Regions from separate parts of the Homo sapiens genome. Here all the other regions are linked to region 3. Evidence: promoter capture Hi-C in 16 types of primary human blood cells and fetal thymus (Javierre and others, 2016). All regions are on one chromosome and are shown on one strand. Each heading gives the region's core, a stretch centred on a gene start or on the middle of the fragment in contact. The rest is flanking DNA. Distances are from core to core; before and after follow the strand shown. Region 1 holds the start of CCDC126 (coiled-coil domain containing 126). Region 2 overlaps TRA2A (transformer 2 alpha homolog). Region 3 holds the start of SP4 (Sp4 transcription factor).

What was found. Contacts are between HindIII fragments. The CHiCAGO score rates a contact against its expected background, and 5 or more counts as called.
Region 1: a contact is called between a fragment that was not itself captured here and the fragment with the promoter of SP4 in region 3, in 1 of 17 cell types (total CD8 T cells). The highest score is 5.3, in total CD8 T cells.
Region 2: a fragment that was not itself captured here is called in contact with the fragment with the promoter of SP4 in region 3 in 1 of 17 cell types (neutrophils); the score reaches 7.3 in neutrophils.

What each region holds. Positions count from the first base shown.
Region 1 is chr7:23,595,340-23,598,412 of GRCh38, forward strand. It overlaps CCDC126 (coiled-coil domain containing 126), which reads left to right and starts at 2,043. Exons shown (of 4, transcript NM_138771.4): 1 at 2,043-2,266; 2 at 2,628-2,712. It overlaps LOC105375187 (a long non-coding RNA gene), which reads right to left and starts at 1,986. Exons shown (of 2, transcript XR_927098.2): 1 at 1,778-1,986. RefSeq lists a silencer at 2,285-2,524. The HindIII fragment of the contact is 959 bases long and covers 772-1,730 here.
Region 2 is chr7:23,527,540-23,530,848 of GRCh38, forward strand. The region is part of intron 1 of TRA2A (transformer 2 alpha homolog); the gene reads right to left. Among named protein-coding and RNA genes, the nearest start is that of TRA2A, 2.8 kb to the right of the region's middle. The HindIII fragment of the contact is 1,530 bases long and covers 524-2,053 here.
Region 3 is chr7:21,426,476-21,429,736 of GRCh38, forward strand. SP4 (Sp4 transcription factor) reads left to right here and starts at 1,608. Exons shown (of 6, transcript NM_003112.5): 1 at 1,608-1,783; 2 at 2,202-2,317; 3 at 2,814-3,261. The coding sequence starts at 1,777. RefSeq lists silencers at 542-931, 1,312-1,901. The HindIII fragment of the contact is 8,073 bases long and covers 1-3,261 here.

The DNA of each region.
Region 1 (3,073 bases), core at 1-2,500, 2.2 Mb after region 3:
AATGTGAAAATTGTCAGAATCAAAATGGAGTCACTTGTGTTAAAAACAAAACACCCTGACAGAGCTGGGGAAGGCTAAGAAGGGAAGGCTTTCACATGTGTATACCTGATAACTAAACTATTGCAAAAGACTCTGCAAAAACCACAACCTTACATAAAGACCACTGCAACCTTACACAACAAGTACTTCTGTGTGGACATCTGCCCAGCAACTGCCTGTTGAACCTAGAACTGGAGTCACCCTTATTATTGATCCTTGTAGCCAAGCATAATAATTTCAAAGCAATTATTTAATCCTCCTCATTTTTTCTTTGTCTTCCTTTACCTCCCTGAATACACACAGAGTTTACTGTGGCATGTATATTCCCATTGCAATGCCCTATTCTTAAGTGAGTGTCTTTTTCTTTTAGAGGTCCTATTATTTAGGTTGACAGCTTTAAAATAAAGCTTGTTTTTGTTTTGTTTTGTTTTGTTTTTGAGGAAGAGGCTTGCTGTCGCCCAGGCTGGAGTGCAGTGGCACAATTATGGCTCACTGCAGACTCCACCTCCTGGGCTCAAAGTGATCCTCCTGCCCCCAGCCTCTTGAGTAGCAGGGACTATAGGTGCATGCCACCACAACTGGCTGACTTTGGTATTTTTTTGGGGGGTACAGATGGGGTTTTGCCATGTTGCCCAGGCTGGTCTTGAACTCCAGGCTCAAGCAATCCACTTGCCTCAGCCTCCCGAAGTGCTGAGATCATAGGCATGGGCCACCGTGCCTAGTCTATAATAAAGCTTGTTATCCGGTAGCACAAGTTTTCCTCCTCCCACTCCTTCTCCTCTTCTTTTTTTTTCTTCCTCCTCTTCCTCATGAATGCTTGTCTTTGCTCTTCCATAACATTTTGAATTAGCTTGTCAAGTTTCTCACACATACACAGAAATTTATTGAGATTTTGTTGGGAATTGCACTGGCTCTGTAGGTAGGTTTGGAGAGACTTGGCATTTTTCAGTATTGACTCTTCCAATTTATGAACATGTTACATCTTTATTTAGGTCTTCTTCAGTGTCTTCCAATGTTTTCTTCAGGCAGGTTTTGCATTTCTTTGATCGATTTATTCCTAGGTACTTGATATTTGTTTGGAGCTGTTGGAAATGGTATCTTTAAAAAAATTATCTTTTTTACTAGCATATATAAATAAATATTGATTTTTTAAAATATGATTTTTGTATCTATTAACCTTGTTAAAAACTTTTATTGTTAACAGTTTATCTGCAGATTGTTTTGAAGTGCCACAAACAATTTTTTTTTTTTTTTGAGACGGAGTTCTGCTCTTGTTGCCCAGGCTGGAGTGCAGTGGCGCGATATCAGCTCACTGCAACCTCCGCCTCCTGGGTTCAAGCAATTCTCCCGCCTCAGCTCCCCGAGAGGCTGGAATTACAGGCGTCCGCCACCTCGCCCTGCTAAGTTCGTATCTGTAGTAGAGACGGGGTTTCACCATGTTGGCCAGGCTGGTCTCGAATTCCCGACCTCAGGTGATCCTCCCGTCTTGGCCTCACAAACTGCTGGGATTACAGGCATGAGCCAACGGCGCCCGGCCTCCACGTACATAATTACATAATCTATGAAAAAATAATTTTGTTTCTTCCTATTTAATCTTCAATCCTTTTATTTTTCTTGCCTCACTCCACTGGCTAAGGACCTTTGGCTTCAATAATGGGTAGTCTCATCTGTAGCACACTTAATCATCACTAAGCTTTCCCAGCCTCAGGTCAATAGTATTAGGAGGTTGGTTCCTCACCGGAGGGTCGGGAACAAGACGCCAGAGCCCTTCTTCCAGCGCCTGCAGCGAGTTAAGGCCGAGGGTATGCCTCTGGCGGGCTCATCTTCCAACACAGAAGACCCCGCCGCCCTCTCTGGTTGCCGCGCAGCTGCGTCGTTCTGACCCAGGGTAGGTGCAGGGCGGCTGGAAGCACGTGCCGCCGCTTCCTCATTCTGGGACTACATCCCCCACAATGCCGCGCGCCGCGGGCGGCTGGCCCCCGAGTGCGGGAAGGGCCGGCAGGGAGGCGGAGCGGAAGCCGAGTGCGAGGGACGAGCGGAGTAAAATCTCCACAAGCTGGGAACAAACCTCGTCCCAACTCCCACCCACCGGCGTTTCTCCAGCTCGATCTGGAGGCTGCTTCGCCAGTGTGGGACGCAGCTGACGCCCGCTTATTAGCTCTCGCTGCGTCGCCCCGGCTCAGAAGCTCCGTGGCGGCGGCGACCGTGACGAGAAGCCCACGGCCAGGTAATGAGTAAGGGGCGAGTCCGCCAGCCGGGCCCGCACCTCTCGCGCGCCCCTCAGCCTAGCCGGCCGCTCCTCCCCCGCCGCGCCCCCGTCCCCGGTCCCCGCCCCGCTAGGGCCGCTGCTGCGGAAACCCGGCTTAGGAACGGGCCGGCAGCCTCCGGCCGCGGCCGGGAAGGCTCTTTGTCCCTTCCTTTGGGCCGCGTCTCTGCCCCTCCGCGTCTGACAGCCGCGGCGCCTCGGCTCGGGCGGAGAGCCGAGCGTGGCTGGGGCTGCGCGAGTCGAGCGGGGCGGGCTTGGTCCGGAGCTGCGGGATGTAGATCCCGGGCGGCACCGCACTCACTTCTTTTTCTGTTTTTGACAGCTCAGTTCTCTTCTACTTTGGGAGAGAGAGAAAGTCAGATGCCCCTTTTAAACTCCCTCTTCAAAACTCATCTCCTGGGTGACTGGTAAGGATGAACTTAAACTGCCGTGTTGATTGTTGACTGTGACGGTAATGAGAATGGCTCAGCCAGCTAGGGTTCGAATCCTGCCTGGGTTTCTCTCACTGCCTGCCTTGGTGATCTTGGTTACTTAAAGGCTCTAAGCTTGAGTTTTCTCATCCATCAAAACACACACCTGTAAGTGGTTAGAATTAGGAATATAGACCTATAACGTCATTAGTTCTTCATTTGATGAAAAGATCCTTTGTGATACTTTCATTAGCTATGACTGAAGTGACCGAAGTGGCCTCTGGACTTGAGTTTTGTGCTTTTGTTTGTTTAATCATCCTGGGTTGTGTGTTCTTCACTTTATCTTAAACCTAACCAA
Region 2 (3,309 bases), core at 39-2,538, 2.1 Mb after region 3:
CCAGTCAAGTTCTAGGAAACTACTATGCTGATTATTGATGACATTTCACACTTCTTATAATACACATGCTACATCGTAGGTTAGAGTTTGGTTGATTTACAAAATTAAGCCCACAGACAAAGTGTTTTCCAAACCACACATCCCTAAATATTTAAATCCCTGGACATTCTTTCAGATCTCAAGGTTCTATATTCCATTTAATGAGTGGTACAAAGTATAAGCCTCTATGACAGATCTGTAAAATTAGTTATGCGCTGTGGGTATAATTACTTGCACTGCTCCTTTTCAAAATCTTGCCCTCTACTTATATTGAGCAGATCAACATCCTTCAGTGAAAGAACCTCAAATATAAAAATTTGAGATTTTAATTTTTTTTAAGTTTACAAATTCTTTGCTTAAATGGAAGGGGAGAGGAGAACAACTGAAAGCATTAAAATCAGATAAATGATAGTACTTAAATTTAGGAAAATAGATTAAACCCAAGACTCTCTTAGGTTAACACTATCCCTACTATAAGAAAGAAAGCTTTACCCTTATGTAAGGTCAATTTGATGATATATGGAATTAAATTGCTAAAGACGCTGAATAAGCAAAATGCTATGACATCTCTCACATTTATCTTAAAACTTCATACACAAAAAAATTTTAAGCCCAATTTAAAAGTTCTGTGTTTTTTTTTGTTTTGTTTTTGAGACGAGTCTCGCTCTATTGCCAGGCTGGAGTGCAGTGGCCGACCTCGGCTCACTGCAACCTCCGCCTCCCGGGTTCAAGTGATTCTCTGCCTCACCCTCCCGAGTAGCTGGGACTACAGACGCGCGCCACCACGCCCAGCTAATTTTTGTATTTTTAGTAGAGACTGTATTTCACCATATTGGCCAGGATGGTCTCCATCTCTTGACCTTGTGATCCGCCCGCCTCAGCCTCCCAAAGCGCTGGGATTACAGGCGTGAGCCACCGGGCCGGCCTTGTTTTGTTTTTAAACAAGCCAGTCACAGGCCTGGGTTTTGATAGTCATCATCCCTATCATTCTCAGATTTCAGAAAAGGACCCTCCCCCTATTTCTTCTATTTTTAACAAAAAATCTATACACACAAATCTTTTAATTCCAAATTGATACAGATAAATTTGTTTGCCTTTTTTTTTTTCGAGACAGAGTCTTGCTCTGTCGCCCAGGCTGGAGTGCAGTGATGCGATCTCGGCTCACTGCAACCTCTGCCTCCCGGGTTTAAGCAATTCTCCCACCTCAGCCTCCTAAGTAGCTAGGATTACAGGCATGTGCCACCCCGCAGGGCCTGTAGGAGTCTCTCAAAAATACTCCAGCTACTCAAGAAGCCAGAAGAAATCCTGAAAAGGAGGCAATAAGAAGCGGTATTTTTCCTCTTCAACTGTAGAAAACATAAATAACTCTGGAATTACAAGATAGGTCCCTAACAATAAAGAATCATTAACCTCCATGATCAACACTGGGATGCTGTATGAAAATTGCACATTTTTATAAAGTACAGTTCTTAAAATTTTAGGGGTAGAGGTGTAAAATGTTAAGAAAAGATTTCCATTCCCCTTAATTTCTATGAAGGGCATTAACATTTTTTGAGCTCAAAATCCGAATTTTAGTTGAAGCTGTATTGAGGCAAACAACTCATTACTTTTATCAAGACATGCAAAGCCACCGCTTAAGTGCTACCTTCACTCCCAGCTCCAAAGGACATCTCCACTTAAAATTGCTTTTATGGACCTACGTATTTACTTATTTTTGAGACAAGAGTCTCATTCTGTTGCCTAGACTGGAGTGTCGTGGCGCAATTCCGCCTCCCAGGTTCAAGTAATTCTCCTGCCTCAGCCTCCTAAGTAGCTGTGATCACAGGCGCACGCCACCACGCCCGGCTAATTTTGTATTTTTAGTAGAGACAGGGTTTCACCACGTTGGGCAGGCTAGTCTCGAACTCCTAACCTCAAGTAATCCACCCGCCTCAGCCTCCCAAAAATTGTTGGATTACAGGCGTGAGCCACTGCGCCCGGCCAGAAACGATTTTAAAAAGGGCATCTCCAGACAAGCTTCTCGCATTGTTCTAATTCTTTAACCAATTACAAATAAAGACAATTATCTCATCCTATAAAAACTAAAAGACGAAAAATAAAAAGATACAACAGGTGAGCCTACAAGCACTAGTTGATTTACACTAAAATACACTTGGGTACCACTTGTGAAAAAAATATTTCCTATGACCACAAAGGGCCGTAAGAGGGCCCTTTATTTCTATTAAATAAATCTTTAATGCCTACATATACTTTAGCTTAAAAGTGGGTGGGAATCTTTTTTTTTTTTTTTGAGACGGGAGTCTCACTGTCACCCAGGCTGGTAGGTGGGAATCTTAACATGTTACTTTCTTAGGAGGGAAAAGTGACAATTGTCGGCAACTTACTCCTTTCCTAGACTTGATGATAAATTAAAAAAAGAAAAAAAGCAAGCAAACAAGGTCCCTCCAGTAGTCCTCTTCACTCCCCACAAACCAAACCAAACATCAATCCCCCAATTTTTTAACAATGAAAGTTAATTGAAGGAATGTATGAATGGACAGCAAAATTTCTATCGATAATTACTCAACATTTTCAAAACAAGAAGCATTTTACAACTACTATCATATATGTTTATCGCATGATTTTAGAAAGTTCTGTTGGGGCCATCAATACACCATCCTAAAAAATAAGCAGGTTCAATTTTCATTTGTTTCCATGCTCCAAACTTTGTAAAAAAAAATTCCAATCAAAAGAATTAAAGGCAAATTTTTTAGTCTACCGGGTAACTATTATAGTCTATTGCTTTAAATCTTTCCTCAAAGAGAACTAAAGCCTAAACTGACCTTCTGATTTGACTTTTTGGTTCTAGATGTTTATATCATGAACTCCCCAAAAGGACAAAATTCGCCCTTCAGCACACACACCTCAGGTGTTTTTATGTGCTTCCCCTAGTGACTAGAATAAACATCTACACAACAGCCCGGAACGTGTTGCATGGGGCTTTTGTTTTCTTTCCAGGGTTTCACACGAACTCACTTCTACTAACTCACTTCTACAATTCCCTATGTAGGGTAAACTTTGGAAATGAAACTCACTGACAAACGTTCCAGTACATTTAAGCTGGGGATATCGTATTCTTTGTGATGTTTGTATTTCTCCGACCCCAAATATATTAATAAAAACTTTTTTCTGAGCCCTCTTCGGTGGGGGATAGAGTGAGAAGAGAAATGGGAGAGGGCCTGTTAATTTTCAGGTCATCTTTTAAGTTACAGAACAGTATATACTGACTAG
Region 3 (3,261 bases), core at 358-2,857:
AGGCAGGAGACAAAAATGCCCAAGGCTGAGTGTGAAGCCCAGGTAAGAAGTGAGACAATGGCTTTGAGCCTGGGGTGTAAGCATGCCTTGTTCCCAAGGCCAGTATTTACATGTGGGGTCACTTCCACCTTTGGTACAGTTAATCAGGCGCTGATTACGTTCCATGGCATCATCCTGACTTCAGGACTTTGTAGGAAAGCTGAGGCAGGACACTGCTCAAGTGCATTTGACAGTAAGATGCTTTGTGCAGCCAGATGTTAATTCCACTTGCCCTTACGCTTGCTTACGCTACACCGTAAGCGGGGCTGACCCTTATGGAGCTGGGCTTTTCTTCGCCCGGAGACTCTTGTCAGATAAGGCTTAGAACTCCGCCAACCACTTAGGCTTTTAGGCAAAACGCGATGCAACCCTTCTTAGAAGGCGGGTCACTGCTCTGCACCAGCTGCCAGCCAGAGAGACAACAAATAAAAATGGAAGATCCTTCTCCGTGAGAAAACAGGCCTCGGACTCAAAGCAGGGGGCCTGAGGGGAAGGTGAGCAAAGAAAGGCAAGGCGAGGGCGCTGCTTCAAGAAGCCGGGTTCATTCAAACCCCGAGGACAGCAAACCCCGCCTCCCCACGCCGCCGCCCGCTCAATCGCCGAGCGCTCCGGGTGTGAGCTCGCCCCGCGGGGAGCGGCTTGGAGCCGAGGAGGCGGCGGCAGAGGTGGTTTGGGCAGCCCCGCGCGGCGGATAGGCCCAGGCAAACAACACCCATTCCCCCTCCTCCTCGCTCAGTTCAACTCCCACTCGGCCCCGGCCACGCCCTGCCGCCACCGCCCCCTCGGGCAGCTTTCCGCTCGGCAGCCAGGCCTCGGTCGGGGGCGGGAGAGAGGCGGTGCCTCGAAGAAGGCACCGCGACCGCCGGAAACTACGAGTACCGACAGCCTTCGCGGTAGTGCCCCACCCCCTTTCTCCCACCACTCAGCGCGCGTCACCCTGGGCTCAGCCAATGGAGACAGAGCCAGGGAAAAAGGGCGCCCGGGTCCGGATGCGCCTCAGGAAAGCCATGCTCCCTGCGCGGGGGCAGCGGGCAGTTCACCCAGCGCGCCGACCTGTTGGTGGTCCGCGCGCGCCCACGTCCGCCGCTCTCGCTTGCCTGGATCAAGGGCCCTACTTTTTTCTTTAGTGGCAATTGGAGGGATTGCTGGAGGGGGTTTTTGAGTGGAGGGCGCTGGGAAATGAGTAGGGGGCGGGATATCCTGAGACAACAAGTTTGGCTGTATGGAGGGCCTACCGGCAGCGCTCCTGAGCTAGAACGCCGAGAGAAAGAGCGCCAGAGGAGCCAGGGAGGAGGAGAAGAGCTGCTAAAGGAATAACCCCGAGAAAGGGGGTGGAGAGGAGGCGGCCCCAGCGCCCCGGCCCCCGGCAGGTCGGCGGCCAATCCGCTGGGGGAAGGGGTGGAGAGTCGGAGGCTCCGGCGGAGAGAGGCCGAGGGGGGTGGGGAGTCGGCCAGGCTCGCACCGCCCTGGCCCCGCCCCCGACCCGCGCCGCCGCCCGCGCCGCGCGCCGCCGCTGTCAATCAAGGGCGAGTCAGCCGGGCTCGGGCGGAGAGAGGAGCTGCTACGCCACAGCCCAGCGGCGGCCATTCGCGGAAAAAGAGGCAGAGCCTGTGCCAGCTACAGCCTCCTCCGAGCCACCGCGGGCGGGCGGGACCGGCCTCTCCTCCCGCCTCGCCCCCACCCCCACCCACCTCTATCCCAGTGTCTCCGTCTGAGGGTTTGTCCTGTTAATGCGGGATGAGCGGTACGTATTCTCCACCCCCCTCAGTCTCCTTCGCCGCCTCCCTCTCTCCCTCCCTCCCCAGACCCTGCTCGGTTCTCCCCCCTCCCCCGGGGCCGCTGAGATGCTTTAAGGGGAGGAGGAGAGGGCGGGAGGGAATCGGGGAGGGAAGGAGGGTTGTGTTTTGTCTTAATGTCTGAGAGAGAACAACCTCCTTCTGGGTGTTGCTCTGGAGCCGATGGGTCGGGTTTCAAACCACGTTTTGTGATATCCCCCTCCTCCCTTCCCTCCTTCTCCCCCACCCCCTGCCGGTGTGCGTGGATCGCGGGTTTATGGAGATTAATGTTCGGGGGGAGGGGGGAGAAGAGGAGAGGAAGAAGACGAATAATAATAATCCTAATAACCTGTTGTCGTGTGTGTGTGGTGGGGGGGTTTGTTGCAGATCAGAAGAAGGAGGAGGAGGAGGAGGCGGCAGCGGCAGCGGCGATGGCTACAGAAGGAGGGAAAACCTCTGAGCCAGAGAATAACAATAAAAAACCCAAAACCTCAGGCTCCCAGGTAAAAGCAAACAAATTAAAAAAATTCATCACGACACATTAGGAGAGAGAGGGAGTTATGCCCTTTGAATGTCCAGAAGTAACAGAATAAAATGTTTATCCACTCAAAGCATCTTTCTGAGAGTGTGGAACTTAAATTGTAAATTCATCAAGTTTTCACCTCTTTGAGGGTATAACGCTGTTTAAAATTACATCAGGAATTCAGACTATAAGAAAACGGTGTGTGTGTTCCCAAGGGCATTTTGAGTTTAGGAACATAACACTTTACAAAGTTGTAAAGAAATTTCCTTTTATTTAAACTTGATATTATAGGACTTGCTTCCTTATTCATATAGTTCTTATCTACTTTTGTTCGTATTTCTTTTTGATTTCTGCTGCTTCCTAAATTGTTATGTAGAGCTGTCAAAATAAGTAACCCCCTGGCAACTACTGGCCTCCACTAAATCCGCCCACTTTTTTTCCCCCCCCCCTCTCCTTTACCGTCCCATTTTGGGTAGGACTCTCAGCCCTCTCCTCTGGCTTTACTGGCAGCTACTTGCAGCAAAATAGGGACTCCTGGTGAAAATCAAGCAACTGGACAACAACAAATTATTATAGATCCAAGTCAAGGATTGGTGCAACTTCAAAATCAACCACAACAGCTAGAACTGGTAACAACGCAACTTGCTGGAAACGCTTGGCAACTTGTTGCCTCCACTCCTCCTGCTTCAAAAGAGAATAACGTTTCTCAACCAGCCTCTAGTTCGTCTAGTTCTTCCAGCAGTAATAACGGGAGTGCATCTCCTACAAAAACTAAATCAGGTAATTCTTCCACCCCTGGTCAATTTCAAGTCATACAAGTACAAAATCCAAGTGGTAGTGTACAGTACCAAGTAATTCCACAACTTCAGACAGTGGAAGGTCAACAAATTCAAATCAATCCAACTAGTAGTTCATCTCTACAGG